Linked DNA regions of Homo sapiens: region 1 is linked to region 2. Evidence: promoter capture Hi-C in 16 types of primary human blood cells and fetal thymus (Javierre and others, 2016). All regions are on one chromosome and are shown on one strand. Each heading gives the region's core, a stretch centred on a gene start or on the middle of the fragment in contact. The rest is flanking DNA. Distances are from core to core; before and after follow the strand shown. Region 1 overlaps PRCP (prolylcarboxypeptidase). Region 2 holds the start of ANKRD42 (ankyrin repeat domain 42).

The links. Contacts are between HindIII fragments. The CHiCAGO score rates a contact against its expected background, and 5 or more counts as called.
Region 1: a fragment that was not itself captured here is called in contact with the fragment with the promoter of ANKRD42 in region 2 in 4 of 17 cell types (naive CD8 T cells, neutrophils, total B cells and 1 more); the score reaches 7.7 in naive CD8 T cells.

Annotation. Positions count from the first base shown.
Region 1 is chr11:82,877,909-82,884,319 of GRCh38, reverse strand. The region is part of intron 1 of PRCP (prolylcarboxypeptidase); the gene reads left to right. Among named protein-coding and RNA genes, the nearest start is that of PRCP, 19 kb to the left of the region's middle. The HindIII fragment of the contact is 5,939 bases long and covers 1-4,424 here.
Region 2 is chr11:83,191,210-83,197,774 of GRCh38, reverse strand. ANKRD42 (ankyrin repeat domain 42) reads right to left here and starts at 4,063. Exons shown (of 11, transcript NM_001300975.2): 1 at 3,047-4,063. The coding sequence starts at 3,104. It overlaps ANKRD42-DT (ANKRD42 divergent transcript), which reads left to right and starts at 4,106. Exons shown (of 3, transcript NR_149009.1): 1 at 4,106-4,308. RefSeq lists enhancers at 3,087-3,446, 3,967-4,076, 4,137-4,356 and a silencer at 3,654-3,832. The HindIII fragment of the contact is 14,061 bases long and covers 1-6,565 here.

The DNA of each region.
Region 1 (6,411 bases), core at 206-2,705, 310 kb after region 2:
CCCAAAGTTCTGGGATTACAGGCCTGAACCACTGTGCCCAGCACAAATGATATTTTTGATAAGTTTTCCTGATGGCATATGACCAGCATGTTTGGCCAGCATCATTGTGATTGAATAATCTAATTTAAACCAGGAACTACAACCCAAACAATGGCTGTGATTCAGCAGATAGGAAAGTAAGGAAGTACTTGTTATCATTTGTCAGTGAATTTATATTTTTATGCAGCTTGAACTGTGGGTCACACTGCAGACACTGTCCTTTAAAACTGTCGGAAATCTCTGCCTCTTCCTGAGCACTGATGGCCTCTTCCTTTGAGGGAGCAGCTCATACAACAATTTTGGAAAGCAGCGGTGATGACTCTCTTCTCCTTGGCGTTGAGTGTTTCCTTCCTCTTGAACAATTGGCTCTAGATGACAGTGACCAGTGCAGACTAAAACAGGCTGTGGTTTGCCTTTTTATGTAGTCTAATTTCTAAAAAAACAACAACCCTTTAAAAGAGATGGGAATTTACACTTACCAACCACCCTTCTGTGATTTCATTAAGCAACCTTGGGTCACACTCATCTGTGCATCTGAGAGGCCTGCAGCAGCACCAAGTCTCATCTTTGCTTACACACATCTAACAAGTGCAGTCAACACTAATTGATGTTGTGAATTTATTTTTACGTGCTTTATTTTTAAATTCCAAACTGACTGACCCCTGCCTTCCGGGATATCTTGAATGCCCATCCCTTGCTTAGCTAGTGTAGGCTTAGACAATGCAAATATATTTTAGGATCAACCTTTAAAAACATAATCAGAGAAATAAATCTGCCAGAAAAACTCTAATATTTATTATTTATTGTTATTTATTATTGACACTGTGTGCCAGACATTACACATTTTTCATTTCATTATTTTGTACACAGTATATTGGGTTGTGGCTTACATAGTGCTGCTGTCTATCAGCTTGGAATGGTTTGTCTTCCTCCTTTCTCTCCCTAGCAAACTCCTGTTCATCTTTCACTGCTCAGGTCTTGTATCACCTCTTGTTAGGAACTGCTTTGCCTCCCTGCCATGGGCTGGGTAACTGACTACTATCCTCTTTGTGCCTCTTATTGCACTTTATAGCTACTTCGATGCTGCTACTCTGGATCGCATTGCTTTATTTATTTATATGTTGGTATCCTGTTAGACTGTGAGCAGCCTGAGTGCTAGGACTCCACCCATCAGTGTATCTCAGTGTGTGCCTTCATCAGCTCTTCAGACAAATAACTGGCTCAAGCTGAAGTTATTCTTCTACCATTAGTACTTGGTTTTGTCAACAGTCTGCCAGTATTGTACTACCAATATGGCATAGACACTGGCCAGTGGGAACAGAAGCTAGTCATGGAGTTGAGGCCTTTTGAAGTATCATCGTTCTTTAGGTCTGGAGATCTAAAAAAGGGTCTGTGGCAGTAGGGCTGTGTGTGTGTGTGTGTGTGTTGCACAGGTAGTTTTTCTCCAACTCATATGGAAATATTTCAGTATTTTAAGAACTGGCTCGGCCGGGCGCGGTGGCTCACGCCTGTAATCCCAGCACTTTGGGAGGCCGAGGCGGGCGGATCACGAGGTCAGGAGATCGAGACCATCCCGGCTAAAACGGTGAAACCCCGTCTCTACTAAAAATACAAAAAATTAGCCGGGCGTAGTGGCGGGCGCCTGTAGTCCCAGCTACTTGGGAGGCTGAGGCAGGAGAATGGCGTGAACCCGGGAGGCGGAGCTTGCAGTGAGCCGAGATTGCGCCACTGCACTCCAGCCTGGGCGACAGAGCGAGACTCCGTCTCAAAAAAAAAAAAAAAAAAAGAACTGGCTCAGTATCAGCTTTGGTCCTCCCAGGTAGTGAGTGCCTACAGAATGGGATTCTGTCTGTACTGCTTAGTGTCCCTAATATGGATATCTCAGCACAACTCAGGTGTCCAAAACAGGTTTAACTTCTATAGCAAATGTTAATGTTATTACATAACACTTCTTTTTAAAACTTCTCTGAATTTTTCACATTACTATGAATACTACTGCAGTTGACCCTAGAACAACATGGGTTTGAACTGCACGTGTCCACTTATAAACGTTTTTTTTCAATACATCTCTTCTGTCTCCCCTTTCACCTCCTCCACTTCTTCTGCCTCTGCCACCCCTGAGACAGCAAGACCAACCCCTCCTCTTTCTCCTCCTCCTGTTCAGCCTTCTCAAAGTGAAGATGAGGATAAAGACCTTTGTGATGATCCACTTTCACTTAATGAATAATAAATATATTTTCTCTTCCTTAAGATTTACTTAATAACATTTTTACCTAGCTTATTTTATTGTAGGAGTACAGAATATAATACATATACAAAATATGTGTTAATTGACTTTATGTTATCAGTAAGGCTTCTGGTCAATAGTATGTTCTATTAAGTTTTTGGGAGTCAAAGGTTATAGGCAGATTTTTGACCATTTGTGGGTTGTGGAGGGTGGGTTGGTGCCCCTAATCACCCTGTTGTTCAAGGGTCAGTTGCACTCTCCTGTTCACATGGGATAGAAAACTTTGGAATTTTCTGATTCTCTCACCTTCACATCCAAACCAAAATCCAGTCAATCACCAAGACATTTCCAAGATTCCATCCTCGTTTCTGCCCCTTCTTTGCTTTCCCAGGGTTACCAGTTTGTACCATATAATTCCAGGCTAACTTATTATAATACCCCCTTCAGTCCCTCTGTTCTTTTAGATTCAGCCCAGGCCAGCTGGCACCATGTTTTTTTTCTCCTCTCCTTTTGTCCAATCCAGGCTTTATAGGGCCCTGCTTAAACCCCACATCTTCAGAGAAACCTTCCCCGCTGACTCAGCCCAGCGGGGGCTGTCCTACCCCCAGGTGCCCTAGTCCTTACTGTCTGTAGCATTTGGATGTTACCTGTGCTCTACTTTGTGAGGCTGCCTGAACTGTAATTACATCTTCAGATGACGTTGAACGGGTGGTTGTCCCTCAAGTAGAGAGCACACACAGCCATTAAGTGAGAATTAATACACTCACCGGGGCATAATGGTTCAGGTCACTTAGATTTTTAAGATTTCTTAATAGAAATAATTTCAAATTCTGTAACTTGGTTGCTGAATAGCATGAAATTTTGTTAAAGAAAAACACTATGACCCACTAAATGAATTCCTAACCTACAAATGGATCACAACCTCCATTTTATATAACCCTGATCTAGACCACAAAGGCCTTAAAAAGAAGAATGTTTCTCTCATAATGGAAAGGTAAGACCTGGAAGCAAAAGCCTTTACTATGAGTATAAAGTGTTGCAAGAGAGGCATAAAGCATGCAAGTCTAGAAGAGGGAAAATTGCACAGTGAAAATGACTTCCTATTGTAGGAAGATGATTCTGTTTGTGGGAGCAGGCACTTGGCAGTGGCTTAGCAGTTTATAGGTTTTCCCTTGAAAATTAAGTCCTTCCTTGCAGAGGGTTTTTTTTTTTTTTTTCCTCCATAAGGGCAGATGGGAAAAACACACATTTCCTCCTCTCTAGTTTTCTTTAGGCTTTTATTTATTCACCATTTTGTTTTCCTTCTCAATATTTTTGCTCTTGCATAATAGCAGGGCTTGTTGAGCTTTTCTGATTTGGACTGTGTTTCTAAACACTAAAATGAGCAAAGTGAGGAGGTTCCAAGATGGCCGAATAGGAACAGCTCCAGTCTACAGCTCCCAGCATGAATGATGCAGAAGATGGGTGATTTCTGCATTTCCAACTGAGGTACTGGGTTCTTCTCACTGGAGCTTGTCAGACAGTGGTTGCAGCCCATGGAGCAGGGCAGGCCATTGCCTCACCTGGGAAGTGCAAGGGGTCAGGGAATTCCCTTTCCTAGCCAAGGAAAGCCATGACAGACGGTACCTGGAAAATTGGGACACTCCCACCCTAATACTGTGCTTTTCCAATGGTCTTAGCAAATGGCACACCAGGAGATTATATCCTGTGCCTGGCTCAGAGGGTCCCACACCCACAGAGCCTCGCTCACTGCTAGCACAGCAGTCTGAGATCCAACTGCAAGGTGGCAAAGAGGCTGGGGGAGGGGCATCTGCCATTGCTGAGGCTTGAGTAGGTAAACAAAGTGGCCGGGAAGCTCGAACTGGGTGGAGCCCACTGCAGCTCAAGGAGGCCTGCCTGCCTGCCTCTGTAGACTCCACCTCTGGGGGCAGGGCATAGCTGAACAAAAGGCAGCAGAAACTTCTGCAGACTTAATTGTTCCCTGTCTGACAGCTTTGAAGAGAGTAGTGGTTCTCCCAGCATGGAGTTTGAGATCTGAGAATGGACAGACTGCCTCCTTAAGTGGGTCCCTGACCCCTGAGTAGCCTAACTGGGAGACACTTCCCAGTAAGGGTCGACTGACATCTCATACAACTGGGTGCCCCTCTGAGACAAAGCTTCCAGAGGAAGGATCAGGCAGCAACATTTGCCATTCTGCAATATTTGCTGTTTTGCAGCCTCCGCTGGTGATACCAGGCAAACAGGGTCTGGAAGGGACCTCCAGCAAACTCCAGCAGACCTGCAGCTGAGGATCCCGACTGTTAGAAGGAAAACTAACAAACAGAAAGGACATCCACACCAAAACCCCATCTGTACGTCACCATCATCAAAGACCAAAGGTAGATAAAACCACAAAGATGGGGAGAAACCAGAGCAGAAAAGCTGAAAATTCTAAAAATCAGAGTGCCTCTTCTCCTCCAAAGGAATGCAGCTCCTCACCAGCAACAGAACAAAGTTGGATGGAGAATGATTTTGATGAGTTGAGAGAAGAAGGCTTCAGATGATTGGCAATAACAAACTTCTCTGAGCTAAAGGAGGATGTTTGAACCCATCGCAAAGAAGCTAACAACCTGGAAAAAAGATTAGACGAATGGCTAACTAGAATAAACAGCATAGAGAAGACCTTAAATGACGTGATGGAGCTGAAAACCATGGCACGAGAACTACGTGATGCATGCACAAGCTTCAGCAGCTGATTCAATCAAGTGGAAGAAAGGGTATCAGTGATTGAAGATCAAATGAATGAAATGAAGTGAGAAGTTTAGAGAAAAAAGAGTAAAAAGAAACAAACAAAGCCTTCAAGAAATATGGGACTATGTGAAAAGACCAAATCTATGTCTGATTGGTGTACCTGAAAGTGACGGGGAGAATGGAACCAAGTTGGAAAACACTCTGCAGGATATTATCCAGGAGAACTTCCCAAACCTAGCAAGGCAGGCCAACATTCAAATTCAGGAAATACAGAGAACACCACAAAGATACTCCTCGAGAAGAGCAACTCCAAGACACATAATTGTCAGATTCACCAAAGTTGAAATGAAGGAAAAAATATTAAGGGTAGCCGGAGAGAAAGGTTGGGTAACCCATAAAGGGAGGCCCATCAGACTAACAGTGGATCTCTTGGCAGAAACTCTACAAGAGTGGGGGCCAACACTCAACCTTCTTAAAGAAAAGAATTTTCAACCCAGAATTTCATATCCAGCCAAACTAAACTTCATAAGTGAAGGAGAAATAAAATCCTTTATAGACAAGCAAATGCTGAGAGATTTTGTCACCACCAGGCCTGCCCTACAAGCGTTCCTGAAGGAAGCACTAAACTTGGAAAGGAACAACCGGTACTAGCCACTGCAAAAACATGCTGAATTATAAAGACCCTCAGTGCTAGGAAGAAACTGCATCAACTAATGAGCAAAATAACCAGCTAACATCATAATGACAATGGGGAAGAAGCAAAAGTGGAAACCCTGATAAACCCATCAGATCTCATGAGACTTATTCACTATCATGAGAATAGCATGGGAACGACCCCCATGATTCAATTACCTCCCCATTTGTCCCTCCCACAACATGTAGGAATTCTGGGAGATACAATTCAAGTTGAGATTTGGGTGGGGACACAGCCAAACCATATCATACCACTCCTGGCCCCACCAAATTTCATGTCCTCACATTTCAAAACCAATCATGCCTTCCTAGCAATCCCCCAAAGTCTTAACTCATTTCAGCATTAACCCAAAAGTCCACAGTCCAAAGTCTCACCTGAGACAAGGCAAGTCCCTTCTGCTTATGAGCCTAGAAAATCAAAAGCAAGTTAGTTACTTCCTAGATACAATGTGGGTACAGGTATTGGGTAAATACAGCCATTCCAAATGGGAGAGATTGGCCAAAACAAAGGGGTTACAGGCCCCATGCAAGTCCGAAATCCAGTGGGCAGTCAAATTTTAAAGCTCCAGAATGATCTCCTTTGACTCCAGGTCTCACATCCAGGTCACACTGATGCAAGAGGTGGGTTCCCATGGTCTTGGGCAGCTCCACCCCTGTGGCTTTGCAGGGTACAGCCTCCCTCTCAGTTGCTTTCACTGGCTGGCATTGAGTGTCTGTGGCTT
Region 2 (6,565 bases), core at 2,814-5,313:
TTAATTCACATACTCTTAGTGCTTCATATTTTATAATTTAATTAATAAGCATTGTGAACCAGAGGCAATAAAGGTATCTAAGCACGAACAGATAACTATTAGAGAAGAATGAAGGAGTAAGCAGTTCAACTTCAGCATTCTCTAAATAAAACAGGCATGATTCCTGACCTGAAGTTGTTTTGAAAACAGCTCACCAACACATCTGGCAAATGATCTGTGCAACCTTGTACTACTATTTATCTATGTACATGTCCTCTCTCCACAATCAGAATGTTAATTTCTTAAGGGCAAAAATAATATTTTACACTGGAATTATATCTTACTTTTATTACATCTTTTTATATACTCTAATTATATCTTTGCTCTTAGCAAACTGCTATAACTGTACTCAAAAAGCCTTTCTGAACATCTACCATGAGTCAGGCACTATGATAACATGATAGAAAATGGACATGGATTTAATACATTTTTTTTCCGCCAACACATTAAAATCTATTTGGATAAATACATAATGAAAACAAAAACCTGACAGCAATGTCCTCAGAGAGTACAGGTAAAATTAAGGAGAAACAAAACAAGTCACAGAGGAGGAGGAAACATTCAAGCAAGACCTTGAAGAACAATTAAGATATATGGCAAATGGGAACGAGAGCATCTGTAAGGTGTGCACATGTACACATACACACACACACACCTTTAATAAACGTTCAGTGATGTTAATCCCTAGGCCGGACCTTCATTCTTCTTTAAACTAGCACAGCCAGACCTACAAATGATGTTCTATCCACTCTACTTATTTTACACAGAGACACTCCTCTAATCCATCTTACACAGACCAACTATCCTAATCACTTCATGCCCCTACTCTAAACTGCCACTGGTTGGTCACTGCTACTCTACAAAACAAAACCCAAACTCTCAGTATGACCTCTATGGCCTCCCATAATTTGGCTCCATCTAATTTTATGGTCTTTTTTCTCACTACATTCCATCCCGATTTATTCACTCATCCACTCATCCATCTACTCAACGTAAGTCTGGTGTCTACCATAAGGATAAAAAGATGAAGACACCCTCAAGGAACTCACAGATTAGTAGAGAAGATACAAACACAAAATACAAAATAATGTGGTAAAAGCAACGATGGAAATATTCATAGGAACCTGTGGAAGCACAGATGACTTCAAACTCAGCCAGGGTAGGAGGGAAGGGGAACACAGAAGGATTCCTGGGGAAAGTTACATCTAAGATAGAATCTTCAAGGATTAACAGGAGTTTGCCAAGGCAAGTAGGAGCAGTGAGTAGGCCTAAACAGCATGAACAGTAGGACATGGTCAAGAAACCACACACACACACACACACACACACACACACACTCTCACACACTCACACACAAATCCTACTACTAAAGTATTAAGGGGATAAATAGGCTAGAACTAGACAAGAAACAGACAATGGTGAAACTTATTTTTAAAAACTTGGACTTGAGCAGACAGTGGAGAATCACTGAGGAATTTTAAACAGAAGAATTATAATGATTGAGAGCTGTAAGGCTGAGTTTACAAGGCTAAATTCAGGGAAGAGAATTTACTGAATGGGGAGCAAAAAGGCAAGACTAAAGAGTAGGTTGATTGGCCGGGCGCGGTGGCTCACGCCTGTAATCCCAGGACTTTGGGAGGCCGAGGTGGGCAGATCATGAGGTCAGGAGGAGACCATCATGGCTAACACAGTGAAACTCCGTTTCTACTAAAAATACAAAAAATTAGCCGGGTGTGGTGGTGGGCCCCTGTTGCCCTAGCTACTCGGGAGGCTGACGCAGAAGAATGGTGTGAACCTGGAAGGCGGAGATTGCAGTGAGCTGAGGACCGCGCCACTGCACTCCAGCATGGGGGACAGAGCAAGACTCCGTCTCCAAAAAAAAAAAAAAAAGAGAGAGAGAGAGAGTAGGTAGATCATGTAAGAATACAGTTTACAATAGTCTAGACCAGAAAAAATGAGACTCTGAACACTGGGAAAAGAAAAGGAGAAAGATTCAACAAATATTAATAAAATTAGAATGAACTAAACTGGAATGGATACAGTGGGTGAAACAAGGGAAAAGTAATAAGATAACTCCAAGGTGTGTGGCTTTATCATCTGAGTGCTGTGGTGCCATTAGTTGAGACAGCAAACACTGAAGGACAGAGAGGATATATAGATATAAAATTACATTTTGGACATGCTGCTCTTGAGGTACCCAAGGAAAATTTCCAGAAGGGAGATATCTATATATATGTTTGCAGCTCCGAGGAGAGATACGGAATTCAGGTCTCAGTGTTACGTGTGTCTCTGTATTAGAATGCTTTTTCTGACACCCATACTCACCCCCTACTGGAATCAGTGGCATTCTACCGTCCTTTATAACACTGATCTCACTTGTCATTATTTGCTCAGCATTTATCTTCCTCACTAGAAGGTAAAGAATGTGCCTGTCTTCTTAAGTTCCTTAAGACGGAGCACAAAGTAGGCATATGCAGTAAATATTTACTGGATGGTTGAATGAGTAACCGATTTGAGGGCCACCAGTAGGACTGAAGTCACAGTAAATGACAAGAAAAAGAGAACCAATGATGGCATCATCAAGGGGTAAAAGCTGCATTTAAGAAGATGGCAGAAGAAAAGAAAACGGTAAGGGAAAGGGTCACTCAATGGAGTGAAAGAAGAAAACTAAGTAAGTACTAATTTGTCACCTCCACAGGGTCAAATGCTGCAGGGAAGTCAAGGAAGAACTTAAAAGGGTCCGTCCATTAAGACTGAACAAGAGTTGATGTCAAGCTGGGCAAGAAGACTCGGAGGAATAGTGTGGATGGAAAAAAGGAAAGAAAGCGGAAATAATACAGAACAGGGGAGAGCTGAACAGCTTTGGTATCCCCTGAAAATAAATTAAAAAGGGAAAGGGGGGAGTGACGGCTGAGAAAAGGAAATGCCAGAAAGGGCTAAGGCTGTTGCGGGCTTAAGTGAGAAAAGGAATACGACAGAGATGAAGGCCAATGACAGTCTGACTCACAGGGGTTTGCAGTCTCCCTAGAGGAAGTGGAGGGGCCTGAATTGGCCACCCCGGGCATGGCGCAACACCTCCGACTCTGGGGAGGAGTTGAGTCCAGGCCCCTGATGCTGCGGCGGTCTTCACTTGCTCTCACCCACGAGCCACTGCAGCGGCAGCGGCCCTCTTCTCCGTCGTCACTAGGACGGGGCCCAAGGTCCTCTCTTGCTCTCTCCCAGAAGCTGCAGCGGAAACCTTCGTCTTCACTTTCTCTCTCCCAAAAGCCACTGAAGCGGTAGCTGGCGTCTTCACTGCCGCTCACACCAGAGGAGTCGCTGGCTGCGTAGCCGCGGTCTCCACTTACTTCCTCCCAAGAACTACCAACGCTGTGGCCGCCTTCGACACTCCCTCCCTCCCAGGAGCCACTGAAGCGGCGACTGCGATCGTCACTGACTCTATCCCCGAAGTCACTAGTTCGCGGGTCCCGAATGTCACTGACTCCCTCCCAAGGACCACTGAGGCGGAGGCCTCGGTCTTCTCTGGCTGTTCCCCTGGAGTCGGTAGTTTGGTGGCCTCCAACTTCACTAAAATTCACGTCGCTGCTGCAGAAGGTGCTGTCTCCCCTAACTCTCTCCCAAGAGCAGCTGTGACTGTGGCCACTATCTCCCCTAACTCTCTCCCTAGAGACGCTGCGGCAGTGGCCGAGGTTTTCACTGACCCTTCTCAAGTCACTGCGGGAGAAGCCGGCGTCTGCACTTAGGCTTCCTGCAGCGACCCTGGAGCGGCGGTCGCTCTCTTCACATTTTCTTTCCCCGTCGTCGCTAACTCTTTCCCTAGACTCGGCGCCGGAATGGCCGTGTAGACCGTTTATCCTCCACACGTGGTGGCTAGTGCGGCGGCCACCGTCTTCGTCTGCTACTCCCTGCGAATCGCCGTAGCGGCGGCCGCCTTCCGCTGGTACTTTCTCGGAGTCTCTTTCCAGCCTCCCGACTCCAGCCACTTGGCTGGAGAGGCAGCAGGGCCGTCGCCTTGGAAACGAGTACACTTCCGACGTGCTGAGGTCATTTCCCGTTCCTCACGGCCCACGCTACTTCCGGTTTCCTTTCCCTCAGCTATTCCATGGCTTTTCGTGTGGACAAATCGGGAGGTGGTGTAAACTGGTTTTTGGTGAAATTCGGCTCGGCCTCATGCGAACCTATCTAGGTCCGTCTCTGGAGTGGCCTGTCATCGATCGCGCCCTCCATCGCTGAGCGACACAAGTGGAACCCCCCAGGACTGCATTCTGCGTAGGTGACCTGTGTGGCGCGGGCCGGGCGGGGCCTTTTTGTCCTTGGGCAAACGTGGTATACTTTCTCAGTGGTGGTTGGAAGGAAATTTGTTGCCCTGTCATTTCGCAAGTATGGAAAAAGACCTAAAGGAGAATTTAGCAGCTGCAGCCGCTGTTTTTATTGCGTACTTTACTAGCGCCAACTCTTTAATAATCGCTTGTTAGTTGTTACCCCTGTTTTATGGGTCAAGAGACTCAATATATCAGTACTTTGGTAAGGCCAGGCAGCAGGTAAGTTGTAAAACCAGTAAAAAAACACAGGTCATTAGTCAAAAGAGTGCTTCAGGTCTCCTGACTCCAAATCCGAGAATCCTTTCACTGTAGCATGTTTACTGCTCAAATATTTCTACAACCCTATTGCTTAACAACAGGAATGAATTATTTCACCATTTGTTGCAAACGTATGGGTCACGTTTTGTGCCAGCAGCAGAAAATACAGAAATTAGTAAGAATTACCTGCCCTCCAGGGGCATCACCAACCTGGATTCCCCTCTCGGCCCAGTTTTTCCACCCTTATTGCCTTCTCCCTTCAGGAATAATGAACTCGTCCTGGAAGCGTACCTTACTTTTTAATATCTCTGCCTTGTCATGTGCTGTTCGTCTTACCAGGAAACTACCCTGCTTTTCCCCCAGTTTTGGTCTGTGAACACATTTGGGAAATTCTTCTGATCCTACCGCTACTCTCTTGAGGTACAGTAAATTGTCTTTGACTTCCATCACCTTTTGTAATATTACAATTGCCATCTACTGAGTTCCTATGATCTGCCTGGCATTGTACTAAGTGCTTTATATTTTCTTGTTCATTTTTTTATGCCAACATAAATGAGTTTGACTCAATTCTTATTATAACCTGCCAAAATAAGTATTCCTCTTCCTTTTTACAGAGAGAGAAACAAGGGAAAAAAAAGTTAATTGCCTGAGGATATACTGCTAGTGTTGCGGGACAAATAGAGACGGGAGAGGCCAAACAGAATTCAGGACAACCCTTTATTATTAAGGTGATCACTGGCTCAGTCGGACTGGGGTCCAGAAAGTCTGAGCCCGGAACAAAGGGATCAATCACCTTTTAAGCAATTTGTGGCGGGAGTTTGGTGCTACAGGAAGCCTACTTGCAGAAGCAAGAACAAAGGCAGTTAATTATTCTTTTACATTTGTTACACCACATGTCTTACATCCTTGGGAATGCATGCTTTTGTAGCAATTGCTTATCAACCTTGTGACTTTACAGCGCGCTAGGGAGGGAAGCAGGAACTCGTGGTGCCTCAAGGAACGTGAAACGGTGGAACACAGATAAGCCTCTCCGTGCGTAGAGGAGAAATAAGCGGTTAATATTCTCTCTTAACCCAGGCCTCCGGAGGGTGGGGGGCTATATTTCATTCTACCTCTAAGGAAAAGAATAAACTTCTTGACTAATATACTTATAAAATTCATTAATTCCCCCTTCACTAGTAAATAATAAATACCTGACTTAGGATTCCAAAATAGGTCTTGAATTTTTCTGCAGGAGCTCCTCAAAGTCTCTGAATTCCCACAACCTTTTATTAGATCACTTATCCCATTGTATTATAATTATCTGTTTAACAATTTTTCCTCACCCCTAAAGGACCCTGAGCTTCTGGAAGGTAGGGACTGTATCTTAAAATCTTGGCATTTCTGATGTCTAGAATATTTCATTTAAGAGAAGGGCTTAGTAACTGTTGTGTGGGTGGGTTGATGAGTTAACTGTCAGGCAGGTGAACTAATAGGCTGAAGATAAAGTTTTTCACTGTTGGAAGTGAATTTGGGATTAGTCATCCTAATCCCCTCACTTTTAGAGATGGGGCAACTGAGTCATGCGCGGTGGCTCACGCCTGTAATTCTAGCACTTTGGGAGGCCAAGGTGAGCGGATCACCTGAAGTCAGGGATTTGAGACCAGCCTGGCCAACATGGCGAAACCCCATCTCTACTAAAAATACAAAAATTAGCCAGGCATGGTAGCAGGAGCCTGTAATCCCAGCTGTTCGGGAGGCTGAGGCAGGAGAATCACTTGAACCTGGGAGGCGGAGGTTGCAGTGAGTTGAGATCGCGCAATTGCGCTCCAGCCTGGGCGACAAGAGCAAAACTCCACCTCAAAGAAAAAACAAAACAAGACATGGGGCAGCTGAGGCCTTTTGTATACCAGGCATTTATCGAGTTATTCATGTGGGCCAGTTTCTGTGATAAATGATTTGCAAAT